Linked DNA regions of Homo sapiens: region 2 is linked to region 1. Evidence: promoter capture Hi-C in human tissues and cell types (Jung and others, 2019). All regions are on one chromosome and are shown on one strand. Each heading gives the region's core, a stretch centred on a gene start or on the middle of the fragment in contact. The rest is flanking DNA. Distances are from core to core; before and after follow the strand shown.

Region 1 (7,391 bases), core at 1,542-4,041:
ACTATGTTGAATGTACAAATATAATACTCCTCCCTTCAGTCTATGTGCACCCCTAGCATCATTTAGGCCAACCATGAACATAACATGGTGCTTCCAATATCCCTTCCCTCTCCTCTCCTTCCCAGCAACAAGATGATAAGACCTCTTATCTGAATTCCATTCTTCATACCTGTTCCTCAGGTATGAGCCCTTAGCCAAGAGCTGTTAGCTCATACCTGAGGAACAGGTATGAAAAATGTAACTGAGATAATGAGAGCTTTCCCTCCCCCCCCTTTTTTTTTTTTTTTTTTGGAGATGAGTTCTTGCTATGTTGCCCAGGCTGGAGTGCAGTGGCCATTCACTGGCACAATTACAGGTGCCTGATAACCTTGAACTCCTGGGCCCAAGCAATCCTCCTGCTTCAGCCTCCCAAGTAGTGGCGACTACAGGCACATGCCATCATGCCCAGCTCCACCCACTTACCCATTCTCAAAGTCTATGTTCTGGTTTGTCTCAGGCCTTTCTGATCTTGGCCTACATATTAGGTGAAATCCTATGAGAGATTTATTGGAAGTCTTGGCCAAAGTAAAGGACCAATTTGGACCAAGGCAGAAAGAGTGGACTCGGGAAATAAGTGCATATAAAGAGACCAGGCTGTCACAAACATGGGGTGAGGGTGGGTGGAGGAGAGTAGGTAGGACTCTTGGACACAAAATTACCTTTCATTCCATAATAGGAAAAGCGCTCGCAGAATTCATTCACCACAATGAAGGCAATGCTCAGTGGATAGTTGGAGCCACAGATTGTCTATTCAACAAGAAGGCAATGATTCAAGCATGAGCTGTTTTTCCCTGTTTCAACAATTAGATTTCTTCAAAACTGAAAAATTCATTTATTTCAAATCATCTTGGTAGGTAATGGAGCAATGGTCTCTACTCTTCATGACACACCTATTAGGTAACACTAAAAGTGCTTATATTACTGATTTAGAAATAATAGAAGCTACTCTGAATATTATTTTGTTTCTTATTTATTTTACATGGACTTGCTCAAATATTCCTTGGACCTGCTCATCTTCCCACAACTACTAAATGAAAAGCCTAGGGCTCTGGGGCAGAAGAATGGTGATATTTACTTCCTAGGAACAGAATAAAGAGGTAGCCTATGGAATACCTGATATCCAAGCAGTGAGATTCAGATGTCAGTCTCTGCTTAGCCCCACTATGGGGACTCTTGTCCCCAGCTGTTCTGTTTGCCATGCTGGGAGGAATCCTGGCAATATGATAGCTTCTACTTCAGAGGCTGCTGGAGTCAGGCACAGAGCCCAACATGGAGGACAGAGATTCCTAAGGGTAAGCTAATTGATCACCTTGACTTTAGGCAGAGTTCTTAAATCCTGTAAAATTAAATGTCTACTCTTCCTACTAAAGAGATTCTATAACATTTTCATGATAATCCTACTGGACATTAAAAGAATTATGCTTTTCATGTAATATATCAGTCAGAATATAAGGAATGTTATGTTTTATTTTAATTCCCTATCTATTACAATAGACCAACTAACATGAGAAGAGACATAGAGGTATCTGTCCTCAGTACAGTCAAATCTTGTAAGATTTATATTGCCTCATTTCATGAGAAGTATATACATCTTTGCAAGTAGCCCTAAATTCTTTGGGACCAGAAGAGATATCATTAACTAAAAAAATAGGCAAAATAATAAAGTAATGTATTATTCTTTTAACCCTAGGGATATATATAAATGATCCTCCTAAATATTAATATATTTTAATGTTTTATAATAGCTTGTTTGAAACATACAATGAACTGGGCTTCTTACCTTTGCAGCTCACAGCTTGAGAATTATGCAATCTGGAGTTTAGCCGACACACTGTTAGCTAGTTAGGCAACACTGCCACTGGCTGTGTTAACATACTGATACTGGCATTGTCACTACACCTGTCTCAAAACCTCTGTTCTGTTATTCCAAAGAAATGAGAATAACATCACCTTTTGGCCCACTGTAAGAACTCAGTAAATTTTGGCTATCATTACTATATCCTCCCCACTTACAGAATTTTAGTGTAAGAATTGACTGAGATGATGAGTTTAGAAGTGCTTTAGCGAGTATATAAATGCAAAACATTACTATTCTCTGTTTCTCTGTCCTATCTCCCACAGTAAACTGGGAACACATAGTAACAGAAATTGGATCTATTCTGAAACTTCCATTGGTGTTCAGCAGAAGACTCTGCACACAGGGAGAACTAAGGGCAGAGTTTTTATATTGGTAAAGAAAGAACAATCACACACAGTTCTTCAGACAAGAATGCTTGCCAAGTTTCCCTGGACATTCGAATTGCTTTTTTCCCCCAGGGAAACAGAATATGCAATGAAATTCAGCAAGTCCCTGGATCCCAACTGAAGAACTTTGACTACCTCTTCCTGCTGCTTTGTCTTCTTATGTAAAGGAAGCTTCTGTTTAGATTTGGTTTCAGGTGAATTCTAAATCCAAGAGAGAAGCATTTTAATACCCTAATACAGCTCAGCTGGAAGCTCCAGAGCCCAAGGAAGAGAGCCAAAAGAGGGAGGCCATTCCTCTCAGAGGCAGGATTGAATCTAAGGACTCACCGGAGATGGCTTCTTTGGAGGGCTAGGTGGTCGAGGTGGTACCTCTTCAATGGAGACAGGTGAAAAAAGAGTTTCCTTGGACTCATTTTTCTGGAAAGGATTCATGGCTGGCTCCTTACTCTCTCTCTCTCCTCAAGCATTTGGCTTTAGTAGGCAGTTAGGACAGCTGCCAGCCTACTCTGAAAAGAAGGACTGGGAGGGGGAGCTGGTGGCTTCAGCAACTCAGTTTAACTCTGTGGGTGTCAGCTTCAATAGCTTCCTGATCCAGAGCAAAGCAGGAAGCTATAGTTAAAAAGAATGTGTAAAAGTACAGCACAGCAAAGTGAAAACATGCCAAAGACAGAATGAAACAATGCTAGAGAACTGATTAGAAAGTCTATGTTTAAGAAAGATTATCTTTGCAAAGGAGTAGAAGATAGTTAAGAACACAACACCTCGAGCACAGATTGAAAAACTGATTCCATGGTCAGGCGCGGTGGTTCACGCATATAATCCTAGCACTTTGGAAGGCCCAGGCAGGCGGATCGTTTTAGGTCAGCAGCCTGGCCCACATGGTGAAACCCCGTCTCTACTAAAAATACAAAAAAAAAATTAGCTGGGTGTGGTGGCGGGCGCCTATAATCCCAGCTACTCAGGAGGCTAAGGCAGAAGAATCACTTGAACCTGGGAGGCGGAGGTTGCGGTGAGCTGAGATTGCACCATTGCACTCCAGCCTGGGCAACAAGAGCGAAACTCCATTTCCAAAAAAAAAAAAAAAGAAAAACTGATTTCAGGGTAACAATAGCTGTAATTTATTGAACATCTACTATTGAAAGGTTAATATATATGAATTACATCTATGTTGTATATCTATAACATATATATTTATTCTAATTCATATTACTATCCCCATTTTATAGAAAGTAATGTTCCCAGAGGTTAAGAAATTTGTTCAAAGTACCTGTCCACTAAGTGGCAGATCTGGAATTTTCACTATGCCATGACAGCTGGGAAAAGTGGAGTTAGTGTCAGTCATTATTCAGGTATGGAGGTTACATAAATGGAATGTAGGAATGCAGAGGATTAAAATGCATTGGAGAAGGAAAGTCATCATAAAACTGAGTTTGGAAGATAAGAAAGATGGTGAGTTTTGGCTGGGTGCAGAGGCTTACGCCTGTAATCCCAACACTTTGGGAGGCCGAGGTGGGCTGATCACAGCTCAGGAGTTCAAGATTAGCCTGGCCAACATAGTGAAACCCCATCTCTACTAAAAATACAAAAATTAGCTGGGTGTGGTGGCACGCGCCTGTAGTCCCAGCTACTCAGGAGGCTGAGGCAGGAGAATCGTTTGAACCCAAGAGGCAGAGGTTGCAGTGAGCCGAGACCCCACCACTGCACTCCAGCCTGGGCGACGGAGCAAGACTTGAAAGAAAGAAAGAAAAGAAGGGAAAGAAAGGAAAGAAAGAAAGAAAAGAAGGGAAAGAAAGGAAAGAAAGAAAAGAAAAGAAAGGAAGGAAGGAAGGAGACTTTTGTTTTCAACATCATAAAAGTTCAGCTAGAAATAGCCTATAAGCAATTAAAGAGGTGGGGCTAAAGAAAATGAGAGAAAAGGATTGGTGATATACATTTGGGAACCATTGTTCTTCTTTGCTAAAGTCACTCCTTATATTTTCATTTTCTCACTTCAAGATTAATCTATTCTTTCATTTAATAAATAAAATTTAATTTGAGCAAAAATTGTGAACCAGTTACTTTCTAGGTACTGTTGTGAACACCATTTTCCTTAATTATACATTTAGTCCTTATCAGAAGAGGAACAAGAACAAACATCATAATGCTAGGTGCATTTTATGCTGTGTTATTTTTGTCAAGCCAAAGAAGTAAAAGGATAAGAAAAGAGCATGGTGCCCCTCTAGTTGTTTGTCAAAAGAAAAGGGAAAAGAAAGGCTAGAGAGCTATAAAAGAAATAAGAAAAATGAAGACTAAATCAACAAGGTCAGGCAACATCAGAATGAATTATTTTATTTGAAAATACAAGAGAGAAAACCTATAACTCTATCCCTCACAAAATTTTTACTTTAACTATTCAAATAATTTATTGACAAATAGGGCCAGGATAAACTGTCTTTTCCTCTCTAAACTTTAACTCAGACTTTGACCATATCTTCTCAGCTTCTATTACACCCCTCATTTCTACTGTCTCCCACCAACCTTTACCCAAAGAAGAGTCCAGCTTCATTTCTGACTGTGGCATTAATAATTAAGGTATAGTTATTCTTTCAGGAAGCACTGCCATTTCTGAATTGGTTTGGTTAATGACTTTGGCTGGAAAATAAATGGTCAGAAGTTACTAGTCAAGTTAACTAGCAGAGGCACAGATGCCTTGAAGATCCACTTATGTTGTGGCTTTCCTTGATCTGGCAGAGTAGATGGAATAGCACCTGTATGCAATGTACCAATTTATTTGTGCTCATAGGTATCCCAAATACTAAACTTTGGAGTATTGGCAGTGGTTTTCTGACACTCCTTTGTTTAGACAAAATTCTTCTTTTGATTATGGCAGTATAATGATAGTATTCACAGAATCGAATAATATCAGAGATGGAAGGAATCTTAATCTTGTCCTATGTGAGTGAAACTTCCCTGAGGATAAGAATCATTTTCCTTTGGAAATTCCAATTCAGTAGATCTCGGTAGGGATCTAAGAATCTTTGTTTTCAACGAGCACCTCTAGCAATTCTTACGCTAGGAATTTGGGAAACACTGGTCATAAATTCTCTCCTATTCTATTTCAGAGGAACTCAGAAGGGACAAAGCAAGGACTGGAACCCTAGGCTCCCAAGGCATAGTCTTGAGCCATTTATATAATATTAAGATGGCTCTTAAATCCTATTATTTTGCTAACATCAGATAGAAGGAGAAAGAGAAGAGATAAAAAGAAAGCACCTCCCAGACAGAAATGAGCACCAACTATTCTGAGACAAACAATAAAAGTGAAAGAATCTAAGTATCAGTGATGAGTAAAGAATATTTGTGTCCTTAGTGATTACAACATCAGAAAACATTTATTATGACATATGATAAAGTTTTAGTTATATATACACAAAAGTAGACTGCTGCTCTAAGTTAATAGAATCTAATATAGTCAGAGAGAAGAGGAAAATATGAAATTAAAAGGGAACATATATTTAACAAGTTCTCTAAATTAAAATACACAAAAATAAATTGTATCAAACATCAGTCACAAAGAAATAGAAAAGGGAAATCTAAGGAATACATTTATATATTTATTTATATAAATAGATTTAGGAATAAATCTAACAAAAGATCTTCTAGACCTCAATATTAAAAACTATAAAATTTTACTGAAAGAAATTGAAGAAGATCTAAATAAATGGAAACATACCATGCTTATGAATTGGAAGGCTCATATTGTAAAGATGTCAACATTTCTCAAAACATTCTACAGTTCTAAAACAAAATCCCAGCAGGTTTTGTGAGTATAGAAAATGACAAGATGACTTTTTAAAGTCAACTTGGAAGTGCAAAGAGCCAAGGATAGCAAAGTCAATCTTAAAGAATAATGGTGGAGGATTGTATTACCCAATCTAAGACCTATTTTAAAGATAGTTATTATATCAGAGTGGAATTGACACAGATAACATAGGGCAACCAATGAAACAACACAGCGTTCAGAAAGTGATTCACACACATAATGTATATAACAAAGATGATGCTGTAATACAGTGAAGGAAATGATGTTGATTTCAATAAATAAACACCATTTGAATATCCATACCCCCTAAATTATTTTGACCCTTATTTTACAACATACACAAAAATAATTTCTATATAGATTGCCTATCTAAATGTTAAAGTAAAAAAAAATGTCTTTAGAGGAAAACATAAGAGAACATCTTTATGATTGTGGAGTAAGTCAGCATTTCTTTTTTTTCTTTCTTTTTTTTTTTGAGACGGAGTCTCTGCTCTGTCGCCCAGGCTGGAATGCAGTGGCATGATCTCACTGCAACCTCCGCCTCCCGGGTTCAAGCTATTCTCCTGCCTCAGCCTCCTGAGTAGCTGGGATTACAGGCACGCGCCACCACGCCTGGCTAATTTTTGTATTTTTAGTAGAGACGGGATTTCACCATGTTGGTCAGGCTGGTCTCAAACTCCTGACCTCGTGATCAGCCCACCTCGGTCTCCCAAAGTGCTGGAATTACAGGCATGAGCCACTGTACCTGGCCAGCATTTCTTAAATAAGATATAAAATATGGTAACCATGAAAGAAAAAAAAGAGATGTTGGACAATATTAAAATTAAGAACTTTTGTTGACCACTCTGCAAATTGTCAAAAGACAATTTACAGAGGGGAAGAAAATATTTGTGTTACATATATCTGTCAAAGGATTTGTGTCCAGATTATATAAGTAACTGCATAAATCAATAACAAAAAGATTAATAGGTAAATGGAAAAATATTCTTTTGCCTGGGCGACAGAGCAGAGACTCCGTCTCAAAAAAAAAAAAAAGAAAGAAAGAAAAATAGTCTCCACCTTTCTGGACGGAACTAATGTATTTCTTACATATATTGATTGATGTCTCATATCTCCCTAAAATGTAAAAAACCAGCTATGTCCCAACCACCTTGGGCACAAGTCATCAGAACTTCCTGAGGCTGTGTCACCAGCTAGTCCTCAGCCTTGGTAAAACAAACTTTCTAAATTAACTGAGACTGCCAGGCCTGTAATCCCAGTACTTTGGGAGGCTGAGGGGGGAGGATCACTTGAGGTCAGCAGTTTG
Region 2 (7,204 bases), core at 1,512-4,011, 180 kb before region 1:
TTCCTTCTTTTCCTTGTACTCAGCAGTCCAAATATAAGACAGGCTAAATTGAAAGGCTAGCTATCAAAATATTTGGAGTAGTATTCCCCAAACTTTCATCATTCTAGCTACTAGTACCACTTCATACTCATGTAAAATCTGTTTCATTATTTATATAGTATTTTTATAACATACTTTAAGTAAATCTATTTAGAAAAAAATCTTTGTGTTAATACTAAATTAGAAAGCAGTATCATTTTCCATAAACAGATCAGTAAAAATAACATATCACACTGCACTTTGGAGTCATAGAGACCTGTGTTCAAACCCTGCTCCACTACTTAATGCCTGTGTGTTCTTGGGGCAGTTATTTAACCTCTCTGAGCTTTGGCTTCCTCACAGAAGTAATACTAAATATCTCATAGGCATGTCATGACGGTTAAATAACATGGCATATATATGGTGCTTAGCACAGATCCTGGCAATAGTAGGCTCTTAAAAAACAAGTTGTTTTATTGTTTTCCCTTCCATAGCACTTCTTTAATCTACTTATTTCAGTTCCTATTTAGAGCAGCCTCCTCCAATGCTGTAACGTAGAATGATATTAAAAGGAGTAAAGAGAGATGAATGGTGAGGCAGGCAGCAGAAATGAGGGGGTGATATGGTGTCATGGAATTCTCTTATTCTCCAACTTAGCTAGAGTTGCTGGACTGTAAGGGACCTCAAAACTCATCATTCCAGTCTCTCACTCAAGCAAGGACCCCTTCAGTGTCATGACAGATGCGTGTCTAGCCTGTGCTTTCTTACTTGTCAGGTTGGGAAATTCACTATTAGAAAAGAGAGTTAACAGAAAAATGTCTTTTTTATAAATAATCCCCAAACTACTGCCACTCACTCCTCCAATCCATAAGTACCAGCTACTTGTCTCTGTCCTGTTTTCTAGAACTACCAGAACATATTATTTTATCCTTTTATATAAACCCTTCCAAATAGCTGAAAGCTGATTTTGTAAATTTTATTAATAGTCTCTCCTCTCAGCTAAATACTACAGTGTTCTCAACTGCCCCTCATGTCGATAGTCTCTAGGACCCTCACCCATTGGCAGCTCTGCCACCAGCACCCTTCTCCCTGAGTCAGTCAACCTACCTCCTAGCAGAGAAGGCTCTCAGGGCAGAACAGGCAGTGAACAAGATCACTTTTGTTAAAGAGTCAGAGATTGAATTAGCCTTTCAACAGTTGCAGGGGGTTGCTGACCACGGCTTTTTTTTTTTTCACATGTCAAGTCATATCGCAACCCCCTTGCCCCATCTTGTTTGTGTGACAGGCCAGCAGTCAGCCAATCAAAATTCCTCTGACTCCCACATATGTCATCAGAGCCAAGGGTGGAGTGGGGCCAACCGTGATGGTGGTCAACAGTGTTGTCCTTGGCTGACCAGAGGCCGAGCCCAGTGGAGAAGATCAGTTCCTTGTGTTTGGTGAGGAGGAAGTTGCTGAGGTTACTTCAGAAACTGCTTTCTGTGTGGGGCTGCTTCCTCCACTGCCTCATTCTCCAACGCTCTCAGGACTGAAGAGGCCAAGGCTGCAAGTAGAAGCAACCAGAGGAGGACAGGCTACACACAGTAGCTGGTGTGTGTGGGTGTGGAAGTTGACCTCACCAAACTTCACCAGAGAGAGTCCCCTGAGGACCACACAGTCAGGATCTACTCCATGTGCCAGAGCCAGAAACCCGTGGGAGTCTAGAAACATCTGAACATTTAGCTGAGTTTTCCAATTTCAGCCATCTGTTTGTTGTTATATGGAAGTGGCCTCCTGCGGCCAGTGGTCAAGTCTAAAAGCACTCTAGGAGGCGGTGCTGATGGTAGTTCTAATACAGAATAGTTTCCACAAATAATTAGAGCAGCATTATTTATTGAAACGTTAATTAGTGTTTGTTTTCTAAGCTTTCTTGATGCAAGGGGGAAAGCAGAAGAGATACAAGTTCAAAGGTTCATCCAGACTTTTGTGAAAGCCCATGGAAGAGATGATACCGGTGGCTTAGAGGTGAAAAGAGAGGAAGAGAGTGCTTTTGAAGTGCAAGAAGAAGGGAGGGCAGGGGATGGTTGTCTGGGTCCTGTGAGCAGTAGAAACCCAACTGCCCCTCCATCAGTGCTCCCGAGGGGGTAGCAACCTCAGGTGTGATGGCTCATGCCTAGAAAGGCAGCATGCTTTGCTCATGGGGCCCAGCATCAGTAGATATTCTCATTCCCCACTGTGGCATGGGGGCAGGGAGCTGCCGGACTTCACAGACCACTATGGGCTCAGATAGTAAGGGTGCCAATGGCAACCAGGACAGACTAGGGACTTGAGGCCCTTCCATCATTTTCCAGTTACCAGGTGAACTTCTTGAATTCTGACTGGGCTGCAGGAAAGGAAGGAGACTCCTGCATGACCCAGTTACAGTCTCTTTTTCAACTGGCAGGATTGAGGCTCACCAGTGGGATTAAGTTGAGTTAAAGGAAATTTTCAAAGTGATGATTTCATATATACTTGGATTCATGGACAGAAATTCATATCCTATGCATAATATAATCTATGTGAGAAGGGCCAGGATTTCACCGTAAACACAGTTCCTGAATTATTCTTAATTTAGAAGTGATGCAGCTCAGGACTGGGTTGTCTTCTTACTCCCAGCCCTGCTGCACAATTGCCAATAAAGGAGGATTGTCAACCACAGCCCCCAGGACTTGACACTCCCCTTTAATTAAACCCTGCTGGGTCCATAGTTCCCTGACATCACCTGAGAGTGAACATAAGACATTTGCAATAAATTTTTATTTTTACTGCTACTGTAAATTGTATTTTTAAAACCCTTCCTCCTTAAAGCAGAAACATGTATCAACCATTATATGAATAAAAAGACACGCCAAAGATTGGGGAAAAAATATTTGCAAAAGATATATCTGATAAAGGGCTGGTATCCAAAATACACAATGAACTCTTATAACTCAAAGATAAAAGAACAAACAGCCCAATTTAATAAGGAGCAAAAGATCTGAACATATACCTCACCAAAGAAGGTACACGGACAGCAAATAAGCATATGAAAAGGTGGTCAGCATCATACCTCATTAGAGAATTGCAAATTAAAACAGTAAGATACCACTACACATCTAGTAGAATGGCTAAAATCCAAAAATCTGACAATACCAAATGCTGCTGAGGATGTGGAGCAATGAGGCTTCCTGTTGCTCCACATCCTCAGCAGCATTTGGTATTGTCAGATTTTTGGATTTTACCCATTCTAGTAGATGTATAGTGACAGAGCCCTCAGAAATAAGGCCGCATATCTACAACTATCTGATCTTTGACAAACCTGAGAAAAACAAGCAATGGGGAAAGGATTCCCTGTTTAATAAATGGTGCTGGGAAAACTGGCTAGCCATATGCAGAAAGCTGAAACTGGATCCCTTCCTTACACCTTATACAAAAATCAATTCAAGATGGATTAAAGACTTAAACATTAGACCTAAAACCATAAAAACCCTAGAAGAAAACCTAGACATTACCATTCAGGACATAGGCATGGGCAAGGACTTCATGTCTAAAACACCAAAAGCAATGGCAACCAAAGCCAAAATTGACAAATGGGATCTAATTAAACTAAAGAGCTTCTGCACAGCAAAAGAAAATACCATCAGAGTGAACAGGCAACCTACAAAATGGGAAAAAATTTTTGCAACCTACTCATCTGACAAAGGGCTAATATCCAGAATCTACAATGAACTCAAACAAATTTACAAGAAAAAAACAAACAACCCCATCAAAAAGTGGGCAAGGGATATGAACAGACACTTCTCAAAAGAAGACATTTATGCAGCCAAAAGACACATGAAAAAATGCTCACCATCACTGGCCATCAGACAAATGCAAATCAAAACCACAATGAGATACCATCTCACACCAGTTAGAATGGCAATCATTAAAAAGTCAGGAAACAACAGGTGCTGGAGAGAATGTGGAGAAATAGGAACACTTTTACACTGTTGGTGGGACTGTAAACTAGTTCAACCATTGTGGAAGTCAGTGTGGCGATTCCTCAGGGATCTAGAACTAGAAATACCATTTGACCCAGCCATCCCATTACTGGGTATATACCCAAAGGACTATAAATCATGCTGCTATAAAGACACATGCACACGTATGTTTATTGTGGCACTATTCACAATAGCAAAGACTTGGAACCAACCCAAATGTCCAACAATGATAGACTGGATTAAGAAAATATGGCACATATACACCATGGAATACTATGCAGCCATAAAAAATGATGAGTTCATGTCCTTTGTAGGGACATGGATGAAATTGGAAATCATCATTCTCAGTAAACTACCGCAAGGACAAAAAACCAAACACCGCATGTTCTCACTCATAGATAGGAGTTGAACAATGAGAACACATGGACACAGGAAGGGGAACATCACACTCTGGGGACTGTTGTGGGGTGGGGGGAGGGGGGAGGGATAGCATTAGGAGATTTACCTCCTAATGCTAAATGATGAGTTAATGGGTGCAGCACACCAACATGGCACATGTATACATATGTAACTAACCTGCACATTGTGCACACATACCCTAAAACTTAAAGTATAATAAAAAAAAAATAAAGAAAAGAATGCAAAATGGTAAAACTACTTTGGGATATAGTTTAGCAGTTTCTTAAAAAAGTAAATATACTCTTACCATATGATCCAGCAGTCACACTTCTAGGTATATTTACTCAATTGAATTGAAGACTTATGTCCACACAAAACCTACACGTGAATATGTATAGCCACTTTATTCATAATTAGCAACTAAGATGCCCCTCAGTTGGTAAAGCTGTGGTATATCCAGACAATGGAATATTATGTGGTAATAAATAGAAATGAGCCATCAAGATGTGAAAAGACATGGAGAAAACTTAAATTCATATTGCTTAATGAAAGAAGTCAATCTGAAAAGGGTACATACTGTATGATTCCAAAGATAGAACATTCTGGAAAAGGCAAAACTGTGGAGACAGTAAAAAGATCAGTGGTTTCCAGGGGTTGGGGAGGGGTGGGAAGGGTCAACAGGCAGAGCACAGGGGATTCTTAGGGCAGTGAAGCTATTCTGTATGATACTATAATGGTGGATACATGACATTGTGTATTTGTCAAAATCCATAGAACTGTACAACCCAAAGAGAGAAACTTAATGTAAATTATGGGCTTTAAATAATAATAATAATGAAGCAACAATGGCTTGATCGTAAGAAATACATCACACTAATGCAAGATGGTAAAAATAGGGGAAATTGTGTTCCACAAAGGGAGTAGATGGGAATTCTCGTACTATGTGCTCAATTTTTTGAAAATCTAAAACTGTTCTAAAAATAAGTAAAGTCTGTTAATTAAAAAAAAACACACATGCTAACCACATACACGGATTTCTGGTAAAGTAACTAAATTAATAATGTGACATTTTAGAGGGCTGCTAGACTAGTGGGAAAGAAAATTAGCATCAATTTCACAGTCCACATGTTCACTTCCCTATGTTGCACCCTTGGAATCAATGCTATACATAGAACGTTGCTGCAAAAAGTCTCCTTTTGTATTTCTGCCTTTTATTTTGACACTTTCTGCATTTTTCTGGTGCAGAACCCTAGACTTTTATGTCAATTCCTTAGGTAAATTAAAGAAAAGGCCCCAGTTTTCTAAGGGCCAGATCAATTTTTAAAAATAGCTTTCAGTTCCATGTTTCTGAAGGAACATTCTTAGAAATGTAATGAGTTTCTTGTTTCTTTGAGGGGCGATACAATTTTAACTTGTACTTTAAAAGCAAATTTTACATAGTTAAGCATTAGAAGTTGAGTATTTTTCTTTGTGTGAGCCAAAATTTTGCATTTATACCATACCAGTGAGTTACCGAGGTGGGGTAGGATGGACCCTCACTCTCATAACCTCTAACATGTCCTCCACTCCCATCCTAGGCTGGCTTTTTCTGCCTCCCTAGCTGCCCTGGGGAATCTTCTTTTATTTACTTTCTCATGATGCAAATTCACACCTACCATTCATGCATGCTAAGGAAGAGGCAATGTGTATTGTTTTCTTGCATTCGATCAATTTCTGAACCCAGAAACTAGGACCCAGGGACACATTTTTGTCTAGATGTCTTCAAGCAAGAAGTCAGAAAGGCAAGGGACACCAAGAGGTATTTTCAGGATTCTACAAGTGAATGCAGAAGACTGTCTGTCTTCACTATCTCTCAAAATCACATGGTGGCTTCAGCAGCAAAATACACTTATTTGAATTGAAGACTGAATTTGCTTATATTAAAAGGTAGGTTCAGGAAAAAATTGTCAAAAGGGTAAGCATTAGGGTGTATGCATTTTAGAAAAAGTACCATTGTACTAGGGATAAGTATAGCCTTCAGATGTGCAGTTGCTTTAGCAGAAAGGGCAATGAGGAAGATGAGAAGGATGGACAGAGCTCAGGATAGAGCTCAGGCTAGTGACAACCGCAGCAAGTGGAGAACCAACAACCCCATACCCAGGGTCTAAGTGAGGTCTCTGGTCTGATGGAGACAGGGCAGAGTGGAGTTGCGGTGTTCTGGGGCATGCCTAGAATCAGGAGCTCCTGAGAAGTGTGTGGAGGAAGGTCCATCTCTGGAGGAAGGCCACAGGGGCCAGGGGTAACCTGGACCACAGGACAGGGAAGGAAGGCTAAGCCAGAGAAGGACTGTAGTGTGGGAAACTGATGGGCTCACAACTCACCCCATGGACATGGACACTAAAGACCACAGTCTAGCGGCAAGACTACATCCAGAGCACCCCTCCTTCCTCACCTGCCTGTCGTGTATCTCAACACCTAATGGCAGGGGTTGGCCAAGGTTTCAGAGGTGGTGCCAGGGCTGCATAGGAACTGGCAATCACTATTGACTCTAGCAACACACAAATATGCACATTTTCATGCTTTACCTTTGTTCCTATCCATCTTCGAATCTCAGTAATTTTTCCCATTTTCCAATAACACCTTAAAATTCACAGATGTAATTGCACAATTTGGAATTTCTAGTTTTTTTTTTTTTAATTTCCTTCATTCAATTAACAAATGCTTAACTAGCTCTGACTGAATGAAGGCCTTGGACTGGTCTTGAGATCCAAGGTGAGCTAAGAAGTGTGGTCCCTGCCCTCCTAGAGACCATAGTTGAATGCAGGAGACCTACA

The links. The method cuts DNA at HindIII sites, captures the fragments that hold promoters and counts their contacts. A contact is called where the count stands out against the background at its distance.
Region 2: a contact is called between a fragment that was not itself captured here and the fragment with the promoter of SLC15A2 in region 1, in 1 of the 25 tissues and cell types used here (thymus).

The regions. Positions count from the first base shown.
Region 1 is chr3:121,889,801-121,897,191 of GRCh38, reverse strand. It overlaps SLC15A2 (solute carrier family 15 member 2), which reads right to left and starts at 2,791. Exons shown (of 22, transcript NM_021082.4): 1 at 2,611-2,791; 2 at 699-786. The coding sequence starts at 2,715. RefSeq lists enhancers at 3,299-3,831, 3,832-4,365. The HindIII fragment of the contact is 16,247 bases long and covers 590-7,391 here.
Region 2 is chr3:122,069,144-122,076,347 of GRCh38, reverse strand. The region is part of intron 1 of CD86 (CD86 molecule); the gene reads right to left. Among named protein-coding and RNA genes, the nearest start is that of CD86, 17 kb to the right of the region's middle. RefSeq lists an enhancer at 1,313-1,652. The HindIII fragment of the contact is 6,239 bases long and covers 1-5,880 here.